Linked DNA regions of Homo sapiens: region 2 is linked to region 1. Evidence: promoter capture Hi-C in 16 types of primary human blood cells and fetal thymus (Javierre and others, 2016). All regions are on one chromosome and are shown on one strand. The core of a region is centred on a gene start or on the middle of the fragment in contact, and the rest is flanking DNA. Distances in the headings are between cores, read along the strand shown. Region 1 holds the start of NIFK (nucleolar protein interacting with the FHA domain of MKI67). Region 2 holds the start of RALB (RAS like proto-oncogene B).

Region 1 (6,766 bases), core at 197-2,696:
TGAGGAAGGAGAATTGCTTGAACCCAGGAGGCGGAGGTTGCAGTGAGTGAGCCAAAATCGCGCCACTGCACTCCAGCCTGGACGACAGAACGAGACTCCGTCTCAAAAAAAAAAAAAGAAAAGAAAGATGCAAACAGCCACAGCCTCGCTTTAAACCCGCCCATCCCCTCGCATTTACAAAACCCCAGTTTCATACTTTGACACACAGTCATGGGGCTCCAGCCTGCCGCCTCGCAGCTCTTCCCTCCTGTGCTGGGCTCCAACCCCACTGCCGCGTCCTTCTTTCTAGACCTAGGAACACTGTGCAGGCCTGTCCGGTCCAGCGGACGGCAGGCGCTCGGTTCTCCACACCCCGCTCTTTAGCCTTCAGGCCTCGGTGCTAACGCCACCTCCTAAGGGGGACCCTCCGGCGCCACCCAGTGTGCCTCTCCCCCACAAGCCTCTTTGGTCTCTTAAAGCAGCCATGCTGCCCTCAGGCTGTAAGTTCTCCAAGGGCCGCGGACGGACGGGGCCACACAGGAGAGCTCACACACAAGTGAGTGAAAGAATAACCAAATTAGGGCCGGGCGCGGTGGCTCACGCCTGTTATCCCAGTACTTTGGGAGGCTGAGGCGGGTGGATCACCTGAGGTCAGGAGTTCGAGACCAGCCTGGCCAACATGGTGAAACCCCGTTTCTACTAAACATACAAATTAAGCTGGGAGTGGTAACGTACAAATTAAGCTGGGAGTGGTGGCGGGCGCCTGTAATCAGCTACTCGGAAGACTGAGGCAGGAGAATCGCTTGAACCCGGGAGGCGGAAGTTGGAAGTTGCAGTGAGCCGAGATTGCGCCATTGCACTCCAGCCTGGGCAACCAAAGCGAAACTCTGTCTCAAAAAAAAATAATAATAATAATAAGCAAATTGAGGAATGAGAGCAGCATCTCAAGGACACAGGTACTGTTTTGGAATTTATTTTAGACCTTTTTTGAAAGTAGGCGTGAACGTAATTGTTTCAGGCACTCTTAAGCGAAGCCAGCCGGCGCCCCGACAGCCGAGGGTGCGGGAGCTCCCCACGGCCCAGCCCCAGCCCCAGACCCCGCTGCCGCGCCTCGGCACGCCCCTGCGCCCCGCCTCCGCGCCTCGGCGCTACTCACGCCCCGCCCTCCGCTCCTCGTCACGCCCCATGTCGCGCCTCCGCGCGACTCACGCCTCTCCCAGTCTCTCGGCACGACCTCGTGCCCCGCCCTCGCCCCTGGCGCAATTTATGCCCCGCCCCGCGCCTCGCCACACCCCGTGCCCCGCCCCCGCTTCTCCGGGCAACTCCTGCTCCAACCCCGCGCCCGACTCATGGCCCTCCCCGCCCCTCGCCACGCCTCGCCTCGCCTTAGCGCTTCGCCCCGCCCCTGTCCTGCCTCTACTTCCGCCTCGGGGGAGCTGGGAGCCCGACGTTTCCGGGAGCGCCGCGTGGTTAGCGTCGGCGGCTTTTGGCATGGCGACTTTTTCTGGCCCGGCTGGGCCAATCCTGTCGCTTAATCCGCAGGAAGATGTCGAGTTTCAAAAGGAGGTGGCGCAGGTTCGCAAGCGCATAACCCAGGTGAGCAGGCACCCTGGCCCAGGCTGCGAGCGGGGGCGATGGACCGGGTCTAGAGGGTATCTGGGGTTGCACGGTTTCCGGCCCGGGCGCCCCTTGCCTTCGTGCTCGCCTTCATTACCTCCAGGGTCTCCCAAGTGGATTCGACCGAATCAGGGACCGACCTCTTAAGCTTGCAGGCCACGGTTTCCGAGACGAAAGGGTTTACGCTGTTCGGTAAATGATGGAGGGGTTTGGCCGCTGAGGCCCTGGAGCCTTCATGTGGAGGGTAACGGGGAAGTATTGGGGTGACAGAAGCAGTAGAAAGAACCAGCTGGAGGGAATAGGCTCCTATACCACAGGTTATCTCCGGGTTAGAGCTGTCACGCTTCCGCGTTTCCCCCAAAAATGGGAGCCCCAGACTTAACACATTCGGGAAGTTTGTATGCCGGGTTGGTGATCTGGGAGTTATTAAAATAGAGTATTTGCCAGGTTCCACTTGCTGACTAGGGCCCCTGACATCGCTTATACTTTCTGTGGTTTTTAGCATAAAATACACAGGAAAACTTAGAAGTTCCTGTTACAGAGGTAAGGCTATGATGACTGAGACGTTGAAAGGCTAATCTGTACCGTGAGAGTTAACAAGCGTATCGAAAATTTTTCGATGAAGTGCGAGTAAACAGTAATATGCATACCAAATTGAAGCCTACGTTTATGTAGAGTTCTCTGGGCAGAAGATCTAAAATGGCTTGTTCAAAGATGTCCTTGCTTATCCGTTGATTGACATAGTTATTGAGCTCTAATATTATACTGGGTGCTGGGATGCCAGGCTGGAAAGATAGTTGACTACTGCTTGACCATGGCCTTTGTGGGGAGAGAAACACTAAACAGCCAGTTCTTTAATTACTACTGTGGTAAGTGGAAATGCAGAATAGGTTCTTGGGCCGAGGGCTAGGGGTTTTGTTACAATGTGATTTTCTTATTTATATATTTAATTTACCTGGTCTTTACGTCTTTAGCGAAAAAAACAAGAACAACTTACTCCTGGAGTAGTCTATGTGCGCCACCTACCTAACCTACTTGACGAAACCCAGATCTTTTCATATTTCTCCCAGTTTGGCACTGTGACACGGTTCAGGCTGTCCAGAAGTAAAAGGGTAAGATTTTTGCAGTTGGATTTAATGTTTTGTTTTTCAAATGTGTATTATCCTTGACATTAAAGAGCACGTTCACGCATACATTATTGCTTATCAGATTTCATTCCAAAAAGGAGAGTGGAGGAGGTTTAGAATCTGAAACAGCTACAGGAGCAAAATCAGTATTATTGTAAAAGTTTGTTTTTTACATTTCTCCAAATCCTTACATTAAATTGACAGTCCTGGTAAATGAGCTTTAGTATGAGGCCCAGGTTTATACATTTTCTTGTGTTAGCCTTTGGTACAAGCATCCTTATAATAGCAAAGGTTTATATAGTGAATAGTTAAAGGTGAGGACTCTGGAGTTGGACTGCTGAGGTTTGGGGTCAGGCTCTACACCTTACTAGTTAGAGTGATATGACCTTACCATGTTTCAGTGTTGTGATCTGTTAAATATAAGTAAAACTTCCTGGGAGTATTTAGTCAAAGGTTAAATATAAAGTCTTTAGAGGATTGCTTGGTACACAATAAACACTATATAAGTATAATTACTATTTGTGTCATACCTGCCTTCTAATGAGAAAACGCTTTACATAGCTTGTTTCAATAGTGGAGGAGTGACCCACTTTCTTTTCTTTCCCCGCACATAAACTTTAATTGGTTGTAGCCATAGACACCTATTTGATTTAGCATGTGGGGGATAGGGTGCACATCCATCATCTGTTAGTTGTCGTAAAGATAGATTGTAGGTAGAATTGAGGTCCCTTTTGTACCCTTCCCAGTGCTCTTCAACTTCTTTAATTAGGGAATTAAATTCACAAATTCAGTTTTCTTTTTTTTGAGACTGAGGCTTGCACTGTCGCCCGGGCTGGAGTGCAGTGGTACAATCTCAGCTCACTGCAACCTCCGCTTCCCGGGTTCAAGCAATTCTCCTTGCGTCACCTTCCCAAGTAGCTGGGATTACAGGCGCCTGCCACCATGCCTGGCTAATTTTTTGTGTGTTTTACTAGAGACGGGGTTTCACTATGTTGGCCAGGCTGGTCTCGAACTCCTGACCTTGTGATCCTCCCGCCTCGGCCTCCCAAAGTGCTGAGATTACAGGCGTGAGCCAGTGCGCCCGGCCACAAATTCAGTTTTCATTGCTATATATAAGTTTTTACTATATATATATGTACTAGAATACATATGTGTACATATATAAATGTACATATGGTATTATTTTAAAATTATATTACTCTATCATTCTTCAGCTGAATTTTTGTATTCAATAATCTGAGCTTTATCCATGTAACTCTATTGCCTTTGTTATCATCATTGCTCATTACTTAGGTTACTAAAGTTTATCCACCCTCCTATTGAACATTAGGTTTTGTTTTGGGGGGCGATCTCGGCTCACTGCAACCTCTGCCTCCCAGATTCAAGTGATTCTCTTTCCTCACCCTCCTGAGTGGCTGGGATTACAGGTACCGGCCACTGCACCTGGCTAATTTTTGTATTTTTAGTAGAAACAGTGTTTCTACTAAACACTGTTTTGGCCAGGCTGGTCTCAAACTCCTGACCTCAGATGATCCGCCCACCTCGGCCTCCCAAGGTACTGGGATTACAAGCATGAGCGAGCCACTGTGCCCAGCCCGAACATTAGGTTTTTTAATATTTTTAACTCTTTAGATTAAGCTGCTAGGAACAATCTTTGTACAGGTATAGGCAGAATTTTCTAGAAGAGTATTTTGCAGACTTTGGCTCACAATAAGAGGTAAGTTTTTACCATCACAAAGAAGATGAGGGTTTTAAAAAAAGTTTTACAGCACAAACCAGCACACATACATATGCATGTAAGCATAACTGAAATAAAAGCCAAATGAGACAATATTTAAACTTGTTTTGTGTGATGCGCTGATTTTCTATTTCATTCTATTCATTTTTTTTTTGTTTTGTTTTGGTTTTGTTTTGTTTGCGACGGAGTCTCACTCTGTCGCCCGGGCTGGAGTGCAGTGGCACAGTTCCTCAGCTGACTGCGATGTCCGCCTCCCGGATTCAAGTGATTCTCCTGCCCCAGCCTCCCGAGTAGCTGGGATTATAGGTGCCTGCCACCATGCCTGGCTAATTTTTTTTTTTTTTTTAAATGGAGTCTCACTCTGTTGCCCAGGCTGGAGTGCAGTGGCACAGTCTTGGCTCACTGCACCCTCAGCCTCTCGGATTCAAGTGATTCTCCTGCCTCAGCCTCCTGAATAGCTGGGATTATAGGCGTGCACCACCACACCCAGCTAATTTTTGTATTTTTAGTAGAGATGGGGTTTCACCATATTGGTCAGGATGATTTTGAGCTCCCAATCTCAGGTGATCCACCTGCCTCGGCCTCCCAAAGTGTGGGGATTACAGGTGTGAGCCACTGTGCCCGGCCTAATTTTTGTATTTTTAGTAGAGACACGGTTTCACCATTTTGGCCAGGCTGGTCTCGAACTCCTGACCTCAGGTGATCCACCCACCTCGGCCTCCTGGAGTGCTGGGATTACAGGCATGAGCCACCCCTCTTGGCCTAGTTTTTCTTTTTTGAGATGGAGTCTTATTCTGTTGCCCAGGCTGGAGTGCAGTGGCGCGATCTCAGCTCACTACAACCTCTGCCTCTCAGGTTCAAGTGATTCTTCTGGCTCAGCCTCCTGAGTAGCTGGGATTACAGGTACATGTCACCATGCCCAGCTAATTTTTTGTATTTTTAGTAGAGATGGGGTTTCACCATGTTGGCCAGGCTGGTCTCAAACCCCTGACCTTGAGATCCACCCTCCTTGGCCTCCCAAAGTGAATATTTTATATTTTTAGTAGAGATGGGGTTTCACCGTGTTGACCAGGCTGGTCTTGAACTCCTCACCTCAGATGATCCACCCTCGGCCTCCCAAAGTGCTGAGATTGCAGGGGTGAGCCACCGCGCCTGGCCTTCCCCTCTCTTTTGAGTGTTGGGATTATAAATGGATTTTGAGGGATTTAAATTTTTCCCAGAATCCACCTGTTGAAGATAATTAAGCTGAGACTCAGTTGTGGAAGTGTCCAAGTTGCTTGTTACTGACACAACTGGTGCTGGAAATGAGCCTCCTGATTCCCACTGTTAAGCCATGTGACTTTTAAGTTGAAGACTTTTTTAATATCACGGAGTGTTGTTACTGAATAAATTCCAGCCATAGGAATTGTGTATTTATCATATGTAACCAAAATCCCAAGAATACCAGAAAATCAGCTGTGTGTTCAGACTCGTGCATCTTTTCTTTTTCCCATAACAGTCCCCGGAATATGTGAATTGAAGTTAGAATTAAGCGTGTCGTACGTAATATTTGATAAGGGGCTAATATACATTATTTAAAATAATGGCATTTTAGGAATTTGATGACGCATTCAAATTTAATTGTTCTACTTTTTGTGGCGGTTTCTCTGTTGCAGACTGGAAATAGCAAAGGCTATGCATTTGTGGAGTTTGAGTCTGAGGATGTTGCCAAAATAGTTGCTGAAACAATGAACAACTACCTGTTTGGTGAAAGACTCTTGGAGTGTAAGTGCTCCTGTCTTACCGCAGGGTTGCCTGGGTGCCTGCTGTTGGTGGGTGACTGTGGTGGGAAGGGCGGCTTGCCTAGCTGCTTGGACATGCCACTTCATCTCTGGGATGAGTCTTACAGAATGGTGCAAGGATTTCAGTGTATGTTGCAGGCAGATTCTAATTGGAATTTTAAAATCTAGCCTGAGAGCTGTTTTTACCCTAAATGGAACTGGACAAGTTACCTTGGGGACACATGGGAGGAGCAGCTAACCCATCCTTATGGGCTGTGAAAGGCTTCTCTAAGGAAGTATAGTTGACATTGAAACCTGAAGACTAAACAGGAGTGAGCCAGGTGAAGGGGACAGGAGTGAAGACAGACCATTCCTGGCTGAGGGACAGTGAATGCCAAACCAATGATGCCTAACCATTCAGCTGTGAGAGAATGTGAGGAAAAGTAGCAAGAGATGAAGGAGCAAGAAGAGGCTTCAGGTCAGGTTACTGAAGGCCTTCTAAGTCAGCGAGTTCCGAATTTATCCTGAGGGCAGTGGGGATAGCA
Region 2 (6,743 bases), core at 2,187-4,686, 1.5 Mb after region 1:
ACAAAGGATATGTCTCCCTGGCCTTCTTCTCCCCCGCTCCTATTTCGTTTAATCCTAACAATTAGGATAACTATCATCACCCTTCTACAGTTGCTGACTCTGGAGCTCAGAGGGGGAAAGATCGTGCTCCACATCACAACACCGGTAAACTCTCAGAACCTGCATCAAACCCAGGTCTTCAAACTCACCCCTCCTGTTTTTCCCAATATGCAGTGCTACCTTTCATGGTCGGCCCATTTCTGGGAACTTCGATACTGTGCTTCTATTGCTCCAGGTTTAAGGAGCATTCTGAGCCTTGACCGGTTCTGAGCTTTGACATCCAACAATCTTATGGCTCTGCTTGGAACATCAGTCATTGACACCTCTAAAAGATTCACTATCCCCTCTGATACTCCATGCCCACCATCCATCCCCAAAACTTCAGAAGAAATGAGGTTAGGAAACCAGGACAGAGCAGAAAGTGCACTGTTCTACAAGGGCTGAAGATGAGTCACAGGTAACCCAGATGAGCAATCAGCCAAGTCTCTTCCACGGCCAATTCATTCAGTCCGCCAGGCACAAGCACTTCTCTCCCGAAGACTCACCTGATAAGAACACCAAAGTTCCAACGTTTCTCGTTGGAAATGAGCACAGAGAGGACACTGCTCACACAAGCAGTGTGGACGCAGCAAGCTCCGCGCCCCGCAACCCTGCACCGAGCACGGTTAACCTCACACTCCCACAGGCGGCAAGAACCGGGACGGCGATGCCCAGTCCAGGCGCTTCCCCTTAGAAGCCCCTTCGCCGCTGGCCCCTATCAGAAAGGAAAGGGGAGGAGGCTGGGGGAGAAACAACTTTATGCTCATTTGCAAGACAGGACCAAAACAAAACCAGCAAACCGAAGCCCTTTAGGAACACCGCCCAGTTCACGGCGCGTGCAAGTTCCGAGGGCAGTTAAGTTTTTGCAACACTTCCCAGCCCTGACCCTGCCCAAGCCGCGGCCGGAGGACTGAGGAAGTGGACGGTCCCGAGCGGGAGGCCCGCGGCAGGAAGTGGAAGCAGAGCCATCTGCGGGATAGGGAAGGAACCGCGGCTACAAGGGAGAGGCGGAGGCCGCCCCCACTTCCTCAGCCCCAGGCAGCCCAGGAAGCCGAGACTCCCCCAGGGAGTCCTCCCGGAGCGGAGCGGGGCCGCTGCCGGGGCGTCGCCCTCCGCCGGCCTCGGGGCGCGACATGTCCTGCCGCCGCCCGGCCACAGCCCGGCACGGAGGGAGCAAGAGGCTGCGGGCGTGCGGCGTACCCCACTCCCCAGCCCGCGCCCCACCCCGCCCGGGGCCCGCGGGCGCCGCGCCCTTACCAGGGACCAGTCCCGCCGCCTCCGCCGTCCGCACCCGGCCCGCAGCTCTTAAACGCGCCCCGCCCCCTCCCGGGGCCGGACCCCAGCCGTCCTCCACCGATTTGTCATTGAGCTGCCGGGCTCGCTTTCCCACCCCCCGAGCGCGCCTCCGGCGTCGCCTAGGCAACCCCTCCTCTCGAGAGCGCGCCCTCGCTTCCGTTCTTGCCCTCTCCTCGGAAGCCACGCCCGTCGGGGGGCTGTCAGCCAATCCGAGGCTGATTTTCCAAGCAGCGGGCGGCCGGGGAGGAGGTTTCACCAATGAGAAGCTGCCCCAGGCACGGGGGGGCGGGCCCAGCGCGCCTGCCCCGTCCCCCTCTGTTTCTCTCTCTGCCCCTCGGACACGCAGCTGGTAACCCTGCGGCAGTGGAGGAGCTGCCCGCCGGTATTGAGGGCGGGTGCGGGTGCACAAGGTGGGGCGCCAGTTGTGGGATTCAGGCCAGGGCTAGGACGAAGTAATGGAAAGCAAAAGCGAAGGACAGACCTGATCATACAGAAACAGAAGAAAATTACGAGGTGGCGAAGAGTGCTGGAGCGCGGCGATGGGGATGCCGCCCGGGGGTCTTGGGGCGGGACTCCACCTGCCGCCACCACTCGCTTCGCTGATGACATCCCATTAGCAGTAATGGAGTTAGTGAGTGCATGGCGGAGACTGGACCCAGGCCGCCTACAAGGGCCAGAATCCCACCCCAGCCATAGCCTCGAGGCAGGAAGTGCAGTGGGCAAGCTCCCTGCCAAAGCCCAGGAACGTGTGATTTTGTATCCAGTACAGCTTCATCTCGGTGGATTTTCCTTCCTAACCACCTCCTCCTCCACAGGTTTTGTGACCGTGCTGACCCCTACGCAGACCTCATGAGAGTCACAAGCCATCGCAACTGACAGTTTAAACGTCTGCCTCTTATCTCTAAGGGAGGGAACTATCTCTTATGCAATGTGATATCCATGGCTGCTAGCACAGTGTAATTAATTCTTTCATTGTTGATCATTGTAAGTTAGGATGCATGTGTATACTATATTGGAGGCTTTGGGCCATGATTAGATTGCTATGTATCTACCAGATCCAGTCCCTCCATCAGCATCTATATCAAAAAGCACAGAAGCTTTACCTTAGTCTTAAGTGACCAACTTAACAAAAAAGTGCAATCAGAAGAATATCCTAGTGTTAGCCTACTAAGTATTCTGTTTTTACCATTCTCATTCACATTTAAAACTTTTATTGAGTGCTAATCGTATGACAGACACTTTGCTAGGTACAGTAAGGAGATGGGGTAGGAGGCTTCTCAAAGAGGAAGCTCCCTAGTATTTATAACCTAGAAGAGGAATCAGACCCAAACCTTTTCTTACGGAGTAACAGTTAAGTGCACAGGTTTGGAGTCTGGAAGCATAGGATTAAAGGAGGGCTCTACCTTGTGACTAGCAGTTACTTAATTAGGAAACTACTTCTGTGGGCTTTAGTTTCACCAGCTGCCCAATAGCAGCACCTCCATGCTATAGGTAAGAAGATGTACATGCAAGTCCACATAGAGCTCTCAGTACAGTGCTAGGAACTTGGTGAGTGCCTCAGGAATGTGAGCTTACATTAGTGATTGCCACCAGAGGCCACGATGTACAGTCAAGTGTGTGATCACCAATCTGGTACAGCCTTATCTCCCAAAGCCCATCTGTATCAAGTGTGACCGCGTGCAGCCTGGTGGAAAGGGCCTGCTGTGGTGGTACCCTTTGTCAAATGCAAGTATAGAGAGGAGAGCAGCTGCAGCAGCCTACCCAAGTGAAAAGGGTATGATAGTTGAGGGAACAGGGTCAGAAATCAGGCCACAGGCCAGGATTCTACTGTTCCCACCTGCCCCCCATCCCCTAGGACCCACAGCAGATGCAGGAGGTTTCCCCACCTTTTCTGGGGTGCTGAAGTGCCATTCCTTTGCATTGGTAACAGGATGCACAGGGCTTTCTGAGAAATGCTGCTTTCATTCTCTGCCTGCCTAGAACTCGGAGGGGTCCTACTGGGACTCCTCCAGCAGGATCATCTATTCAGATCCTGGACATGCCAGACCCTGAGCTGTGCAGTATATTCAGAGAGGAGTGGCAGGACCCTTTTGGCGGGGCTGTCTCACACAGGACACCAATAGGGGAAACGTGTCCCAACGGGAGAAGGGAACCAAGAGGCCACCAGCCTCAGCTGCCTCTAAGGTGGCTCATTCCAGGTCTCAGGGGACCTCTTGTCTGCTGAGTTTCCCTACCAGAACTCTGACTCCCAGCAGAGCCAGGGGCTTGAGCAGCAGAAATACAAGATCCCCAGCAGGACTCCTTAAGGATGCTGTAAACGACTGCTGCCATGGAAAGAGCATTCTAGACACTCCATCCTTCTAAAGTATTTATTGATTACTGTGGGAGTCTTTAGTGCTGTCTGACAAACATTTCTACTCCTCTCTTGTGAGCACTGGAAACTTCCTAGCCCTGTAGTTGGGTGGAGCCATGTGACTAGCTCTAACCGATCACTTGTGAGCAGAAATGACACATAATCATTTCTAGGCTGGAGAAATTAATTGCCAATATAAGACCCTCCAGAGCTCTCTTGTCCTTGGTATGGCTACTGAGAATGTTAGGAAATGTGACTGCTCCATCAGCCAGGGTTTCTACAATGAGCACAGGCCCCCTACCAACCTGTGATGGACATTTAGAATGACTGAGAAATAAGCCCTTATGGTTTGAAGACACTACGATGTGGGAGTTGTTTGTTACTGCACATAGCTTAGCCTGCTCTGACGGATGCAAGGTGAACAACTCACACAAAAGGACAGAGAAGAGGCCAGTAAACAGACAAGCACCCCAAAAATTACAAATTATGTCATTACAAATTATTTTAGACTGGGTGGTCAAAAAAGATCTCTCTTGGGAAGTGACATTTAAGCTAGGACCTCAAGGATGAGAAAAATCAATCTTAGCAAAAGATGGGGGTAGGAGGAAGGACAGGAGAGTATTTCAGGCAGAGGCATAAGCCTGTGCAAAGTCCTGAGGCAGAAGAAAGCTTGGTACTGCTGAGAATGGCCAGGAGGCCTGGAATGGTGAGCAGGGGAAAGTGAGTCACACAGGGCTGGAAGGGGAGGCAAGAGCCAGATGATGCAGGGGCTTCTCGGTTATACAGAGGAGTTTGAAATTTACTCCTAGTGCGGTAGAAACTGCTGAAGAGGTTTGATATGGTTTGGATGTGTGTCCCCTCCAAATCTCATGTTGAAATGTAATCCCCACTGTTGGAGGCGGGGCCTGGTGGGGGGCTGTTTTGATCATAGGGACAGATCCCTCATGAATGGCTTAGTGCTACTCCTTGGCAATGAGTGAGTTCTTGCTCTGAGTTCACACAAGGTCTGGTTGTTTAAGAGTGCGTGGCACCTCCCCGCCTATTCTTATCCCCGCTCTCAGTATGAGATGCACCTGCTCCCACTATGCCTTCCGCCATGACTGGAAGCTTCCTGAAGCCTCCCCAGGAACAGATGCCAGTGCTATGCCTCCTGTACAGCCTACAGAAACATGAGCTAATTAATAATTAAGCCTCTTTTCTTTATCAATTACCCAGTCTCAGGTATTTCTTTATAGCAACACAAAATGGACTAACACGGACGGGCGCGGTGGCTCACGCCTGTAATTCCAGCACTTTAGGAGGTGAAGGTGGGTGGATCATGAGGTCAGGAGTTTGAGACCAGCCTGGCCAACATGGTGAAACCCCATCTCTACTAAAAATACAAAAAAATTAGCCAGGCGTGGTGGCAGATGCCTGTAATCCCAGCTACTCGGGAGGCTGAGAAGAGAGTTGCTTGAACCCAGGAGGCAGAAGTTGCAGTGAGCCAAGATCATGCCACTGCACTCCAGCCTGGGCAACAGAGCAAGACTCCGTCTTAAAAAAAAAAAAAAAAAAGACTAACACAAGGTTCAAACAGGAGGCTGACATGCTTTGATTTTGGTTTTAAAAAGATTACTCTGGGTCAGGCATGGTAACTCATGCCTATAATCCCAGCACTTTGAGAGGCCAAGGAGGGTGAATCTCCTGGGGTCAGGAGTTCAAGAACAGCCTGGGCAACATGGCGAGACCCCATTTCTATAAAAAATAAAAAAATTAGCCAGACAGTGGTGCACACCTCTGGTGCCAGCTACCAGGGAGGCTGAGGTAGGAGATTGAGTGAGTCCAGGAGGCGGAGGCTGAGCCCAGGAGGCAGAGGTTGCAATGAGCTGAGATCGTGCCACTGCACCCTAGCCTGGACGACACAGCAAGAAGCTGTCAGAAAAAAGAAAAAACATTACTCTGGCTGTGGTGGGGAGATTGGGCTGTGAGGGTTGGATGTGGAACCGAGGTTAGGATGCTGTTCCGGGGGTCCACGCACAGTGGGGTCCTAGACAGGGTAATCAGCTCTCAGATCAGAGATTTGGAGAGATTGCAGGAGGAAGGGAGCAAGAGAGCTGAAGAGAGCTGAAGACCAAACAGAACAGTCTTCCTGCCAAACCCCAGAGGAACCAGAGGCAAGGTTTGAAGTTTAGATCCCTAGAGGTGCTTTGACACCAGGGACATGGGTACTCAAAAGCCAGGAAGGAAATGGGGGAGGGTATGGATTTCCCAGAACATCAGCCAGCAGTGGAGACTTGCTTCCATGAGCTGGCAGGAGTGTATTCATAGACCGTATTATTAGAAAGAGGCCCGGCAAGCTTCTGTGGGCATCCCTGGGGGCATTTGATCTTTGGTAACCGCATCAATTAGAAAAGAAAAAAGGCTGCCAATCTACAGATGGGGGAACAGCCATTCTCACCTGCTGATGATTCTGGACAGACACTATTCCAAGCAGCCACAGCAAGAGGAGCTTGCCCTCGGCCCTTCTCTCAGCTTTCCCCTCTGCGTTTCACCACCCCTCACTGCCCAGAGGTTCTCGCCTCACTTCCTGCTGTCTGGTCCTGTTCTCAGGCATGGGTTGCACAGGCTCATTCCCGTGCAGGAATAAATGGCTAGTTACAGCTCCATTCCCATTCCGTCCTGGGCACTTGATGAAAACCTGAAGTTCCAGGCTGTGGGAGGTCTTTAGAGGAGGACCTAAGATCTTTAATTCACATCACTAGGATGGAGGGATCTACCCCTCATCCAAAAAAAGCTCAGACTCCTGAGTTCTCATGCAAAGCACCAGGTAAGGGCAATGCGTCGCGGGAACCCTCGTGGAGCGCCTAAGCAGTAGCCCTGAGCCTTCCTTTCCTTGCAGCCTTTTGCAGGCAGCTACCAAAAAAAGCTCTTGCCCTTTACTGATTCCCAAACATATTCAAACGCTTGACTCTGTTTCTCAGTTTAGTCATTGTCACTAAACTGTGGTAAGTCATTGCCACTAAACTGTGGTAAGTCA

The links. The method cuts DNA at HindIII sites, captures the fragments that hold promoters and counts their contacts. A CHiCAGO score of 5 or more calls a contact.
Region 2: a contact is called between a fragment that was not itself captured here and the fragment with the promoter of NIFK in region 1, in 2 of 17 cell types (total CD8 T cells and fetal thymus). The highest score is 8.6, in total CD8 T cells.

What each region holds. Positions count from the first base shown.
Region 1 is chr2:121,731,555-121,738,320 of GRCh38, reverse strand. It overlaps NIFK (nucleolar protein interacting with the FHA domain of MKI67), which reads left to right and starts at 1,446. Exons shown (of 7, transcript NM_032390.5): 1 at 1,446-1,575; 2 at 2,571-2,708; 3 at 6,117-6,225. The coding sequence starts at 1,471. RefSeq lists a silencer at 960-1,409 and an enhancer at 1,510-1,559. The HindIII fragment of the contact is 3,379 bases long and covers 1-1,746 here.
Region 2 is chr2:120,247,573-120,254,315 of GRCh38, reverse strand. RALB (RAS like proto-oncogene B) reads right to left here and starts at 1,464. Exons shown (of 5, transcript NM_002881.3): 1 at 1,336-1,464. RefSeq lists an enhancer at 412-681 and a silencer at 1,182-1,771. The HindIII fragment of the contact is 1,925 bases long and covers 2,474-4,398 here.